Regions from separate parts of the Homo sapiens genome. Here all the other regions are linked to region 3. The links are contacts of gene promoters, found by promoter capture Hi-C in blood cells and fetal thymus (Javierre and others, 2016). All regions are on one chromosome and are shown on one strand. Each heading gives the region's core, a stretch centred on a gene start or on the middle of the fragment in contact. The rest is flanking DNA. Distances are from core to core; before and after follow the strand shown. Region 1 holds the start of CPA4 (carboxypeptidase A4). Region 2 holds the start of LINC03008 (long intergenic non-protein coding RNA 3008). Region 3 overlaps LOC105375508 (a long non-coding RNA gene). Region 4 holds the start of CPA2 (carboxypeptidase A2).

Evidence for each region. The method cuts DNA at HindIII sites, captures the fragments that hold promoters and counts their contacts. A CHiCAGO score of 5 or more calls a contact.
Region 1: the fragment with the promoter of CPA4 here is called in contact with a fragment that was not itself captured in region 3 in 6 of 17 cell types (erythroblasts, M1 macrophages, total B cells and 3 more); the score reaches 7.6 in erythroblasts.
Region 2: the fragment with the promoter of LINC03008 here is called in contact with a fragment that was not itself captured in region 3 in 1 of 17 cell types (endothelial precursors); the score reaches 5.8 in endothelial precursors.
Region 4: a contact is called between the fragment with the promoter of CPA2 here and a fragment that was not itself captured in region 3, in 6 of 17 cell types (M1 macrophages, M0 macrophages, endothelial precursors and 3 more). The highest score is 7.5, in M1 macrophages.

Annotation. Positions count from the first base shown.
Region 1 is chr7:130,291,161-130,294,410 of GRCh38, reverse strand. CPA4 (carboxypeptidase A4) reads right to left here and starts at 1,250. Exons shown (of 11, transcript NM_016352.4): 1 at 1,163-1,250. The coding sequence starts at 1,230. RefSeq lists an enhancer at 756-845. The HindIII fragment of the contact is 9,413 bases long and covers 740-3,250 here.
Region 2 is chr7:130,140,479-130,143,611 of GRCh38, reverse strand. LINC03008 (long intergenic non-protein coding RNA 3008) reads right to left here and starts at 1,881. Exons shown (of 2, transcript NR_149034.1): 1 at 1,840-1,881; 2 at 994-1,353. RefSeq lists enhancers at 1,320-1,983, 2,172-2,311, 2,492-2,571, 1,984-2,647. The HindIII fragment of the contact is 6,567 bases long and covers 1-2,295 here.
Region 3 is chr7:130,806,610-130,810,181 of GRCh38, reverse strand. All of the region lies in intron 3 of LOC105375508 (a long non-coding RNA gene), which reads right to left. The region is part of intron 2 of LOC105375509 (a long non-coding RNA gene); the gene reads left to right. Among named protein-coding and RNA genes, the nearest start is that of MIR29A, 68 kb to the left of the region's middle. The HindIII fragment of the contact is 3,814 bases long and covers 256-3,572 here.
Region 4 is chr7:130,265,245-130,268,415 of GRCh38, reverse strand. It overlaps CPA2 (carboxypeptidase A2), which reads right to left and starts at 1,553. Exons shown (of 11, transcript NM_001869.3): 1 at 1,464-1,553. The coding sequence starts at 1,534. The HindIII fragment of the contact is 5,023 bases long and covers 1-2,845 here.

The DNA of each region.
Region 1 (3,250 bases), core at 1-2,500, 510 kb after region 3:
AGACACAGGTGTGAACAGAAGTCATCATCATAAAACTTAGTCAATCTCATATAAGTAATTACCTCAAAAAACAACCCCAAAGTCTCATTAGCCAGATAGTAAAATAGAAAGAAAACTAAGAGACAGATCCAAGAGATATAGGATTTTATTTGGAGATGAACTTGTGTTATAGCAAAAGGGTACGAGTTTTACGTTCAGAGTTCCAGCTCCCCTGCTTCCCAGCTAAGTGGCCTTGAGCGCGTTCCTTAACATTCTAAGGCTGATTTTTTTCATGTTTAAGTGGAAGAAAATAACACCCCTGCCTGGCAAAGTTGTTGTGTGATCAAAAAGATAATGTACATGAAAGCTCTTTGCAAATGGTAAAGTATTATGCAGTAATGAGTTATTATAATTCAGTCTTCTAACAGGGCACCATGGTATCCCTTTTATCTCTCCTACCACCCAAATGTCCTCTCCCCTGCAAACCTCAAAGTATTCTGCATGGAGCGTGTTGAGCACGTGTGTGTGTGCACACACACACGCGCACACACACACGGTGTTCAGGCATGTGTCTCTGCATGTCATTTTCATAGCTGTGTCTAGGCAAGACCTGTGAAATCTCCACGTCCCAGAAGCCAGTAAGAAAGCACCAGCTCAGAAGAGGGTGTAGCTCAGGGGTAGAGCATTAAACTGCAGATCAAGAGAAGGCACCAGCTCTGCAAAGCCTTCGCCATTAACAAAGAAGTGAAACCAACAAGCTTGAGACCCAGGGTTTCCCTTTATGCATGGCGGAAATTGGAAACAAACCATTTCTGGTAACCAGTAACTCTTAGTAATTAATAACGTAGCTCTTAGTAACCAGTAACTCTTAGTAATTAATAAGGTAGGAGTAAGAAAGTAGATGCCTGGAACTGACCTTATAAGTAAGAACTAGGCAGAAAAAGAACTGGCAGGAGATGAGGGAGCTGGGGAGAGACTGCAATGATCATCTAGTCCTGATTTCACAGATGAAATGGGGTCTCAGAGAAGAGAGTGGACTTGTCCAGGATGACACAGGGGCAAAGCTGGAACAAGAGCCCAGGTCTTCTTCCTCCATGTGAGCTATTATCAGCCATTCATTTTCAGTTCCATTTGGCTCCCATATTTCTGAAATAACCAAATAATAAGTCCAAAAGGAACTTACCCAAAAAATTTTTCTTGGCCACAGATGCTGGACCCAATAAGGGCCCCAATGAACAGTATCCACCTCATGTCCCCGGGGAGTCAGTCATACAGTGGCTGAGTCAAGCTGTATTTATAAAGAGTCTGAGAGTGACTCAAGTCCTCAAAAATGCTAATGTGATTCCCAAGCACCCTTGCAACTCTGACTGTGACAGGCAGGCCCTACCAATGCCTCTCCCATTCCTTTCAAGTGATAAAGGTTGAGCATCTCAATTTACAAGGTCAGGAACTTGCTCCAGGAGCTGAAAAAGTCTGTGCCAAGGGTACCATATTGCTCATCACTTGGCATTTAAATAGTGTTTTTTCAGTGAATAAGCTAATTCCACAGTGTTGGATGGAATTTATCCTGATAGGAGAGGTCAGATTATAAACCTGGCATAGAATTACCTCTAGAATAATAATAAAAAAGTTAAGACTATCAAAGCAAGACTGAGCTGGCTCCAAGACCACATGCTTGACAAGCCCTGCCAGAGAATTTCACCAGGGCAGGTCAGGATGAGGAAAGAGGTTTGGGGCCTCTTTTATGTATCTGAAGCCTAATTCTTCTGACTCCACTAAGGAAATAGAAATGTATCAGGCAAATGATATAGAAAGGATGTTTTAGTCTGAATAAATTATCAGTGTTCCTTGGGGTCTGATCTATGGGGAAGGCTTAATGGTTTTATCAATAATAAGATTTTCAGCCGGGCGAGGTGGCTCATGCCTGTAATCCTAGCACTTTGGGAGGCCGAGGTGGGCGGATCACGAGGTCAGGAGATTGAGACCATCCTGGCTATCACAGTGAAACCTCGTCTCTACTAAAAATACAAAAAATTAGCCGGGCGTGGTGGCGGACGCCTGTAGTCCCAGCTACTCAGGAGAATGGCGTGAACCTGGGAGGCGGAGCTTGCAGTGAGCCGAGATCGCACCACTGCACTCCAGCCTGGGCGACAGAGTGAGACTCCATCTCAAATAAATAAATAAATAAATAATAAGATTTTCTTATACTTCCTAGACTGTGGGTCTGGTGTCCTTTCCGCCAAGTCACAGCTGAATAAATGGAAGACACTCATATCTCCATAACGCCTTCAGGGGCTCTGGGACCTTTGAGTCTGTCCTGGGAGCCCCAGTTCCCACAGCCTTTCCCATCCCACCCTCCCTACGGTCTACATGCTTTCCACACCCACTCAAAGGGAGTGGACACAACCAAGGGTCATAGTTGAGAGAGTTAAAGAAAAACTATCCTGACCTGTGTTAAAATGTAAGACCTAATTCAAGATTATTATGATTAGGACCATGGCTATTTCAGTAGGAAAGACTTACTGTGCTTAACACTGAATACGGCAAAGAAAACAGAGAGGATCAGTGGGATTACTAAGAGAAGACATCAAGGTAGGGGGATTCTTGCTAAAAGCAGGCCAAGGACTTATACATCAAAGTCCCCATCAAAGGTGGGGATGAGGAACTTGATCAGATATCAAGGTGGGAGGGATGACTTCGCAGGATCTTTGCTCAGGCTGGCTTAGCCAGGGCTCAAGAACCAGCCTAATCAAAAGGAGGGTGCAGAATCTCAAGTGTGGTCCCAGAGAGAGCCTTTGTTAGGAGCTGTGGAGCTAGGGGCCATCATCTCCTCTTGCTCCCTCAGGGTCCTTTTGTCCTCTCAACACTTCAACTGAATTCCTACACCCACCCTGTCCACCACAAAGCGTGGGCTCAGCGTCACTGAGATCGATGTCAGCTTTGAAGTCAGCAACAAGAACAACTGAGACCCAAATCTGTAAGAGATGTGAAGTGGGAGAATCAAGGACCAAGCATTCTAGGCAAGCTGAAATTTAGTTCCTACCTTTTCTCCCAGGGAAAATCATCCACATGAAGAAAACCTAAATCCCTAATGGGAGTCAATATCTAAAGAGAAACTGTGTGCAACCTGAGACCGAGGCTTGATAGGGCAACCAGGAAAAAGGAATGTCATTGGCTTGGGTCCCCACCATTTGTGTGTTTGTTTTTTTTGAGACAGAGTTTCACTCTGTCGACCAGGCTGGAGTACAGTGGTGCGACCATAGCTCACTGA
Region 2 (3,133 bases), core at 632-3,131, 670 kb after region 3:
GCCAGCCTCTTCTAAGGCCGCAGCACACTTCCCACTTGTTGGAAGGGGAACTGGGGAAGGACACAGCCTACTGACCCCATGGCCCCATTTATCCCCCCATCCACCCCTCCATCTGACAGCGTACACTGAGCATCTACTATGTGCTAGGCTCTAAAGAATACAGACAGAACAAGAACAAGGCAGAGACGTTTCCAGTCCTCATGGCACTTCCATTCCAATGGAGAAAGTCTGGCAATAAACAAGGTGTGTACTAAACAAGATGGTGTTCCATTCTTTGGGAAGAGGACAGGGAGTGGAGAGTCCTGAGCAGAGGGGAAGACTATACAGTTTTAACCAGAGAGGGCAGGAAAGCCCTTGCTGCCTCACTCGCCTCACCCTAGCCCTGGCTCTGCCTCATTGAGAAGACCACATTAAAAAACTGAAGGAGGCCAGGCACACAGCCATGTGGATACTGGAGGAGGAGACCTCCAGAAAGAGGGAGCACGCTTGACCGCTCAAGGAGCAGCAAGGAAGCCACCGTGGCTGGTCGAGAGTGAGCAAAGGCACAGTGGTAGGAGTTGAGGCCAGAGAAGTTTGGACTGTGCGGGCCCTGGAGAGAGCTGGGTAAATGGGACATTTCAGGGTGTTCTGCAGGCAAAAGCAGGCCCTCCCACCCTCAGTTCTGTTCTGTCTCCGGGCAGTCCACAAGCACCTGAGGGCCCACGTGAGGAGAAGAGGCCTGGGTTTTCCGGGCCTGGAAGCTCCACTGCCAGAAGCATTCGCCCCCTGGCCCAGACAAACCAAGGTCAGAAGGCACCTCCACCCAGGTTTCCACAGGCGTCCCTGCTGCTGCTTCACTGGGCTGAAGCTACCCACGTTCACTCAGCTTTGCCAGGGCAGGATGCTTACTCCCTACAACCTCCCTCTGTGCCGTTTTTCTCCTATCCCTGGGCACGCAGGTGAAAGCTAAATGAGGAGAGACCCGCCCCACACCTGAGTGGCCAGGCTGACTCCTGTGGTGGAACGAGTTTTTAATAAAACCAGAAGAGCTTCCCAATTCCACGCCTCGCTGCAGTCTCTTCACCTTGCTCCAGAGGAAAGACCCAGAGTATGGCAGGGCTGCGGTTAGCGAGGGCTTTGGTCAGCAGCTGGAGAGTGCCGTAGTGACATGGTGACAGTCCTCGGCCCCCAGGAGGGGCGGAGGCCACCCCTCTGGGACCCCCAGCCCTAGAATCCCATGCAGGAGTGACTCTGCTGTCCCATCACACTCACAGCTGCAGCAAGGATGCCTTTCCAGCAGTCACACTCCCACGCAGGGGTCAGCCTTCCTCCCAGGGGGAGCAGGGTGGAGCGGGAGCTGGTCCTCCCAGCATACTGCAGGCGGACAACAGTGGCCTGTTTCAGGTGACACCTGTCTTTGGGCCCAGGTCCCACTTCTGTGGTTGTCCCCAGGCTGAGCTGCCCCCTGGAAGGGTTTTCTGGAAAGGACCAGAGAGGTGTGGATTTCGGAATCTCTGAGAGCTCTGGCACCTCTGTTTTCTGCTCCCTGGGTTGAGTGGCCAGAAGAGCCTGTGTGCTTGCATTTTCGGTATGACCCCTGGCCCTTATGTGTCTCTGTGTCCCCAGGCCCCTGCTCAATTCTCCACTTCACCGAGGGTGCCTGACCCCTCTCCTTTTCCCTCCATCCCCCCACTTCTGAACGCACCCCACCGTGTGCATGGGAGGGTCCTTCCTCCCTGTGGCTTTTCCGGGGAGCCTTTTCTTCTCCCTGAAGTCACCCCCGCATATCCCGGAGAGCCACAGCGCCTATCCCCTGGGTTGCCATGGAAACAGCCTTCTTTCCTCTTCCCTCCTGTTTACCTTGGTCAGGGACTGCGGCAAAAACCAGCCCGTCGCTGGAGGAGAGGGAGAGCAGTGGGCGGGGGAGCAGGGAGGGAGCCAACCCGCTCCAAACCAGATCATTCCGGTTCAGAGCGGCTTCCCCTCCGGTCCTAGGAGCCTCTCCGACAAGGCGCGCTGGGCTGCGCAGGGAGGCCCTGGGCCGAGCTGGCCTTAGTGGGGAGGGCCTGAGCCCACCCTGGCCAGCACCCCCTCCCCAGTTCCGTCCGGCCTCCATGCGTCCCTCCTGCCAGTGCTGGCGCAGCGGGGCCTGGGGCGCTGTCCCTGATTGCTGGCTGTTCCCCGCACAGGGGCGCCCTGCTGGGGCGGGGGTGATGGGAGCAGAAGTGTCTCGGCCCCAAAGGTGCTTTCGCCCTCCTGGGACCCCCGGGCACTCTCCTGCGACAGGGATGCTCTGTGTGGCTCTGGCTTAAAGCTTCCCGCTGCGTTTAGAGAAGCCAAACCCTTCGTCCCAGCCCCGGGATAGGTGCGGGGCCGCCTCTTCGCGGGGATTCCCCTGGCTCCCACCGCAAGGCTTCTTCCCCTTGCAGAAGACACCAGAAGCTGGGTTTTGTCCCTGCCCCGAACACTCTGGTCACACTTTCTAGCTCCCCGTGCACACCGGGCGGGAGGCTTTCCTTGTTTCTACGCCACACAGCTCCTATTCCCCCTCCATGGGCCACTGTGGTCATCTTGCTCGTTTGCTGTGGTCTGATCGATCGCCTCCTCCCCAATGGAAACTTCCCGAAGGCAGGGCCCGCTCACGCAGCACCCCAGCACCAATGGCACGTGCCAGATGTTCGGTGAGCGACGGTGGCCTCGAGGATGGGACGCGCGGCGGCGCCGGGCTGCGGGGGCCACCTCCCGGCCGAGTCCCCTCCCCGCTAGCGGGCGGCAGCTTCTTAGTCGTCTGGGTGTACAGACTGAAATCCACGGCTCTTCCTCCCCAGCCATGTGCGCTGCAGGCGGCAAGTCCATGGCCAGCGGGCGGGTAGCCCAGCGCACCGGGCCTTGGGGAGCCGCCCGCAGCACGGACCGCCCTGGCCCCTGGCTTCACCGCCCCTGCGCGGCTGCTCCCAACCCAGAATCCCGGGAAGCCAGGGGTGACTTCACGTCCCCGAAAGCCCTTCTGAAAGAATTTTCTCAGTAACTATCCAGGCCCATGTGCCTGCCGCCGGGTCCCAGGAGGATGAAAGTTCTCATGAACGCGACCTTGCAAGCTTGCAGACTTGGACTCCCTTCTCTGGCCCTTGGCAAATCACTGAATTTGTCTTGT
Region 3 (3,572 bases), core at 913-3,412:
ATTGTTGAAGGATAGTTTTTGGAACCCTTGCTTGCCAGATTTTTCTGTTAGCACTTTGAATATGTCATTCACTGCCTGCTAATTTCCACTGTTCATAATGAGGAGTCAGTTGCTAATCACATTACTGCTTCCCCTGTACATTTGTACAGTTATTTTTCTCTTGCTGTTTTCATGATTTTCTCACTGTCTTGGCTTGACTATGACATGTTTAGTTGTTAATATCTTATGTTTATCCTACCTGGAGTTTGTTAAGCTTCCCAAATTTGGGAAAATGTTGCCACTATTTCTTCAAATATTTATTTACCCTCTTATTTTTCTATCTCTTTTCTGGGATATCCATTATACACATACTGATATGAGAGAGAATGACAGAGGGCGGGGAGGGGTTGGGGTAGAGACAGAGACAGACAGAGACAGAGACAGACAGACAGACAGACAGACAGACAGACAGGGTTGACACTTCAATCTACAGGTCTCCTCTACCCCGACACACTGATTCTTGCTGATGTGATAGGCCCACTTATTTCCTTTTTCATCCTCACCTCCTTAGACACTTGGTGCTAAGCAGTCATCAGGAAGTCCCTGAAGCTAGACAACACACCTCCATTTTGTGATTTCAAAAAAACTGTCATGAGCTTGTTCTGTGTGTCAGTTACTTACACAACTCAATGCCCCACTGGCTCTGTGGGAGGCCATCACAGAGAACAACCTCACTCAACAGTCCTCCACTTTAATTGGCTCAGCACTCAGCTACTTTCCCTACACATTATGGTTTAAAGTAATAGGTGTTTTCAAGATTAACTAAAGATGTATTTTATTTAGGAGAGAAAGCAGTCTTCTTAAACAGAAAGTTCTTATTGGCTCATTTATCCACCTCTTTGATCAGCAAATATACATCCAATCTCAGCAAAGTATTTGTCATTGTGCGAGATGCTGAAGACATCAAATATGAAAAAGACCCTGCATTTCTGTCTCTAATCTCAGTCCTTAGATAGGTCACTTTTAAAACTACGTTAAGAGTACATCGTGTGGTAATTATTAAATAACTCCTTAAGAGTGATCTCTTAAAGCCACAGCTACACATTAAAGTGGCACAAAGTAGTTTCTGGAAATAAATAATTTCTAATACTTATGTGGCACTTGTAGTGTACCATTTTAATAAGTTCCTTATCCGGTACTCAGATAAAATAAGCATGCTTTCTAGAAGGTACTAGAATCTACCAATCCACTTGAAGTTCAAGTACCAATCTACTTGAAGTACATAGCCAAGCATGGTGGCTCACACCTGTAATCCTAACACTTTGGGAGGATGAGGCAGGTGGATCACCTGAGGTCAGAAGTTCGAGACCAGCCTGGCCAACATGGTAAAACCCCATCTCTACTAAAAATACAAATAATAGCCGGGCGTGATGGCAAGCACCTGTAATCCCAGCTACTTGGGAGGCTGAGAGAGAAGAATCACTTGAACTTGGGAGGCGGAGGTTGCAGTGAGCCGAGATCGCACCCACTGCACTCCAGCCTGGGCGACAGAGCAAAATTCCATCTCAAACAAAAACAAAAACAAGCACATGACTTTAAAAAAAAAAAAAGACATCCTGTAGTTCAAATAAACCTTGCAGCTGGTAAGTCCTTCTACCAGACAGGCCCGTGTACACAAAATGGCATCTTTTTATCTTGATATTGCCAACTAAAATGTGTCATGGAGAGAATTTCTCCTTAACCACAGAATCTAAGGATTTTAGAAGACTTGGCCTGGCACTGTAACGGAAGGCAGACTGTCCTCAGATTTGCAGATATATTATTTAGAATTCACTTAAAAGAGCTGGAAAATACCTTCCTTTAGTGAGAAGATTCCAAAGGCCTAGGTAATCCTATTTTTTCTGAATACTGACATCAGCAATGTAATATTAATGTCCTTTAAGTGTCAAAAAGATCATGCGAACATTTCCAGATATCAAAACTAGATGATACAGATTTGGCTTTTGGATACCATGCCAGCATTTAGATCACGTCAATTCAAACTCAACCCTGAATCTGACTCTACGCATTTCATAAAATTGCCTTGCCTGAATATAAACAGAATAGCGGGCAGCAGTAAAATTTCCACAACATTTTTCCTCTTTTTGTTCTATTTACAGCGAGAAGTTTTTGTTTGTTTGTTTCTGCAGACACACATTTATAAATGTTCTGCTCTGCATGGAAAGTTAACACTACCAGAGTGAGTTTTGTTTTAAACATGCAAGGAGATGTTTTTATATGTACAGAAAGGGACCTAATAATTATATCAAGGAGGAAAATGGGGTAGATATGTCCTGACAAGAGTGTGAGCACAGTGGCTGCACTGAAGTCATGAGGGCTCTTGCTAGCTAGGGATAAAATCTCATTATCTCCAGTTATGGGTGATAACATTTGGAAGAACACTGTTTCCAGTTAAAAGTATCCTAGTTATCTGCTCTGGAGTAATCCAAGATCCACTGAAACCAAGGCTGCTTCCCACACCCGGCTGTCATGTGTACCACTGTTGTGCTTATATTAATAATACGAGACTTCAACTCTCGGACTTCATTTCCTCCTGACAATAGCACCATGAGTTGTTTAGGAGGAGATGACAATTTAAAGCAACATTTTCTAAGTAACTGAAATAAATCCAGTCTCAGGTATTATGCCTAGAACACCACCAAGAAGCATGTCCTGATCCAGCTAGGTTGGGGTCATGGGTCCAGATCTAGCTACTCAATCCATTTTCCAAGATGGCGGTGGTCTGCATCAAGTTAAGAACTTGTTTCCCTTCCTAATTCCTTTGGCTGTGAACTGACTTAGAATTGAAAACATATTATTTTGGCTAAAATTTATGAGTTATTTCTTTGCCTCAGCTTGCTTTCTTAAGATTTGCTTGTACGTTTAAGAATAACTACAATGTAGAGTTAAACCCAGTCATATCAGAATGGTAGATTCTTTCCCCTACAAAAAGAACCCTCCAGATTTATGGATGTCTTGCTTTGACTTACATCTGTCCATGTTGCCACAGAGCTTAGTCACTTTTTTCTTTGCCTTTCCTTGGTTCCTCCTGCATTTTGAGGGTGGTAAGGAAATATAAACATTAAAATATATATTTGATTTATTGCCTGATCCATTTTCTCTGACAATAGAAATGTCACATCCAATAAGAAATTAAATCATTCAAATATGTCTTTGTAACTGGAAATTAATTCACTCTTTTATAAGAATTTGAAGCTATGTATTTAGAAAATATATACAGTCATTACTTTAGGAAACTGAATAAAATCCACTAGAAATTTGAGGAAAGGATCCAAGACATTTTCACAACTGTCTTCCCAAGATTCTTTATAGTTGAATACAAAATAAGACATGAGAGATCATAAGTCTTGAGAAATGTGTTTCATATTTAGGGCAAATAAATGTTTCCCAGCTGATTTATAATCTCTTCTTTTCTCAAAAGCAGCAAAAAACATCATTATAAAATGTAAAATGGAGAAGAATGGTCTGAAGGGCCACCATGCAGCCATACGGCACAGGATCTAGATTATGCACCACAGTGGTTCTGAAATGTG
Region 4 (3,171 bases), core at 304-2,803, 540 kb after region 3:
ATTCATGGGGCCCAAACATGGGGCATGGCCAGAGATAGTTGGGACCCTGACAAATTATGTGCCGTGCCTCTCTTTACAAACACACACACACACACACACACACACACACACACACACACCCCCTTAATAGGGAATGAAGGATGAACAGGAAAGAGAAATCTCAAAACAATCAAGCACATCTCTTTAGGAAGAGTTCCCTTGGTGACAGAGTTTCCCCTTCTAGCCTTTCTCCACGTAGGCAGACTTCCTAAGTCACTGCCCCAACTGTTTGTGCAGTGGGGAAGGAATCAATACAATGAGCCATGTACAGGGACCAGAATATGGGTCTTCTGAAACCAAGCTCCATGCAATTTCCTACGAACTCCAGTGGAATACAGAAGTGATGGAATGTGAGCTCTTCGAGGCTCACCTGCCACAAATGGTCTGAAAATTCTTCCATTTAAGTCTCATTATTTTCGGTTAATGCATGGACTCCCAGGAGTCCTCCTTTAAAATGGGAAGGCACTGAGAAAAGTAATACAACAGGGTCATATTTCCTGGTGTGTGTTCTAAAGAATAGTAGTTCTTTGAGTTACTCAGTGAAAGAAAGAAAGAAAGAAAGAAAGAAAGAAAGAAAGAAAGAAAGAAAGAAAGAAAGAAAGAGAAAGAAAGAAAGAAAGAGAAAGAGAAAGAAAGAAAGGGCAAGCTGGGAGCAGTAGGTAGTTTATGATTAAAAAAAAGAGTACATGCTGCAACCTAGATCCCCTCTTATAGATTTATAATGCACACTGATTTAGCCAAGGCTCCTAGAAATCCTATAGTTTGTTTAATCCTCTGATTCCCACATTTATTTGACCAGTGGCTTTTTGGGACCAAACTTATTTGATTGCTTTCTTAGCTCCCTGGACCACTCTTCAAAAAATGCTGCCTGAAACCCTTCATAGAATCATGAAGCAAAGTACTTTGGAGCAAAGATGAGTCCTCCAAAGCCAGGAGAGGAGGAGTTGAGCTGAAATCTATAGCCCTGGCCTTTCTACTTCATGAGGTTCCACCACCTAGGTGCTGAATCTAAAGATCGGGGGTTAGGGCACAAGGGCTAACGTGGATGGTAAAGCCCAGAAGAGCAGGAGGAGGTGGGAGAGTAGCATTGACACCCGCTGAGTTGCCTGGAACAAATGGCCACACAGCTGTATTTTCCCTGATGTCTATCATCCCTACAGTCTGATCACTGGAGGGAAAAATGAGTAAGGACAGAGAGAAATAGGGTTATGTGTGTTCAGTTTTCACTTTTGTCTTTTCCTTTAAATGTCATTCACCTCCTTTTTGATCATCCACTCCTTTTTTTCACACTATTGACTTATCCCCAAATCTAAGAGAACTTCTCTGAAAACACTGAACACTTATACCCATTTACTCTGTAACAATCAAAGCCTCCATCAATCAGGTAAGTAAAATTCAAAGAAGCACCAGAAAGCATAACTTACCCCACAAATGTTTCTAGACAGTAGATATGCCCAAAAAGGGCACCAAAAAACAGGATCAACCTCATGGCCATGGGTTTTCCTGGAGTCCAGAATTCAGAGTCCTTCCTGAACTTTATTTGTAGGGATGGCAGCTGAGGGTGATCTGCTGGCCTTCTGAGAACTCACGTGAATTCCCACATGGGAAAATTCCCACCTGCATGTGAAATTCTCAAGGTTGTAGACATCCACCTGTGTGATATCACCAATGTGTACATGTTCCATTCCTAGGATAAGATAACAAACTTTGATGGAAAGAGAACAAAATTGCTAGAGCATACCAAGGGCAATATAGTTATGATTGAGACCATAAAACGCCACTAGCTACCCTGTGATAGAAGCCAGATTAATAGACCTAGAGGTTAAAGTCTTTTCTGGGTCTCTGACACACACACAAAAAAAAGGCCAGAGCATTTATAGTAATTACTCAGGCATCCTGTCTATCACATTCCATTAGTTTGCTCATTTGTTTATTTTTATAATGTTTACCTTGAAACACTGCAGTCACTCAGTCCACATCTGCTGAGTGTCCCTGTAGATGTGGCCCATTCCAATCCTCACTCTACATTAAAACAAAACAGAAGGCCTTTTAATATTCAATTTTGCACTTTCTCGAAAGTGATCCATCTGCATTTGCACCAAATTGATATCCCTCTTTCTGTGCTTTTTCCCAAAATGAAAATGTCTTTCTGATGACATTTCCTATAACAAGCAACAATGAAGTTGCTTGTTATAAAAAGTGTGAATTAAAAGAAAGTGTTTTCTTTAACCATCAATAATTCTTCCATCCAAAGAAAACCATTTGGCATATGTCTTTCCAAATTTCTTTCTCTGCTTTCGAGTTTTTTTCTTAAACAAAGATTAGACCATATCACGTATACTGTTCTTTAAACAAAGGTGATCTTTTCTTGTTCATAAACATAGATCTACATTAATCTGACTTTGTTCTTCATTGCTTAAGAAGAAAATATAACTGCTTATTTTTAGAAACCATAGTTTATTTAATTTTAGTTGTTCATACACGTTATATTAAGCCTAGAAAGCCTCAACCACAACAAGCAGCAAGGAAATTTTCGTCTGTCCTTTGTGTGTCAAATTTATCAGCACACACTTTAAATCTCTGGGTTTGCATTCTCAAATATCTGCTTTAAGGGGAAAGGTATATACACAGTGTTTCTGATTTTAAGAATGACTGGATTAACTTGGTTTTTCATTCTCCTGGGAGTCAGAGAGAAGACAGAAACCAAAAGGCAGAGGCCATAATTCATCCTCATGTCTCCAGCACCTATCAAATAAACAGTAGTTCAATAAACTGGAAGTATGTACTTGGAGAATCAATAAAAGCTTCCTGGAAAAAATCAAGTTTCAGGCTGGGCTCAGTGGCTCACGCCTGTAATCCCAGCACTTTGGGAGGCCAAGGCAGGTGGATCACGAGGTCAGGAGATCGAGACCATCCTGGCTAGCATGGTGAAACTCCGTCTCTACTAAAAATACAAAAAGTTAGCCGGGTGTGGTGGCGGGAGCCTGTAGTCCCAGCTACTCAGGAGGCTGAGGCAGGAGAATGGTGTGAACCCGGGAGGCAGAGCTTGCAGTGAGCCCAGATGGCACCACTGCGCTCCAGCCTAGGCAACAGAGTGAGACTCCGTCTCAAAAAAAAAAAAAAAAAAATGGA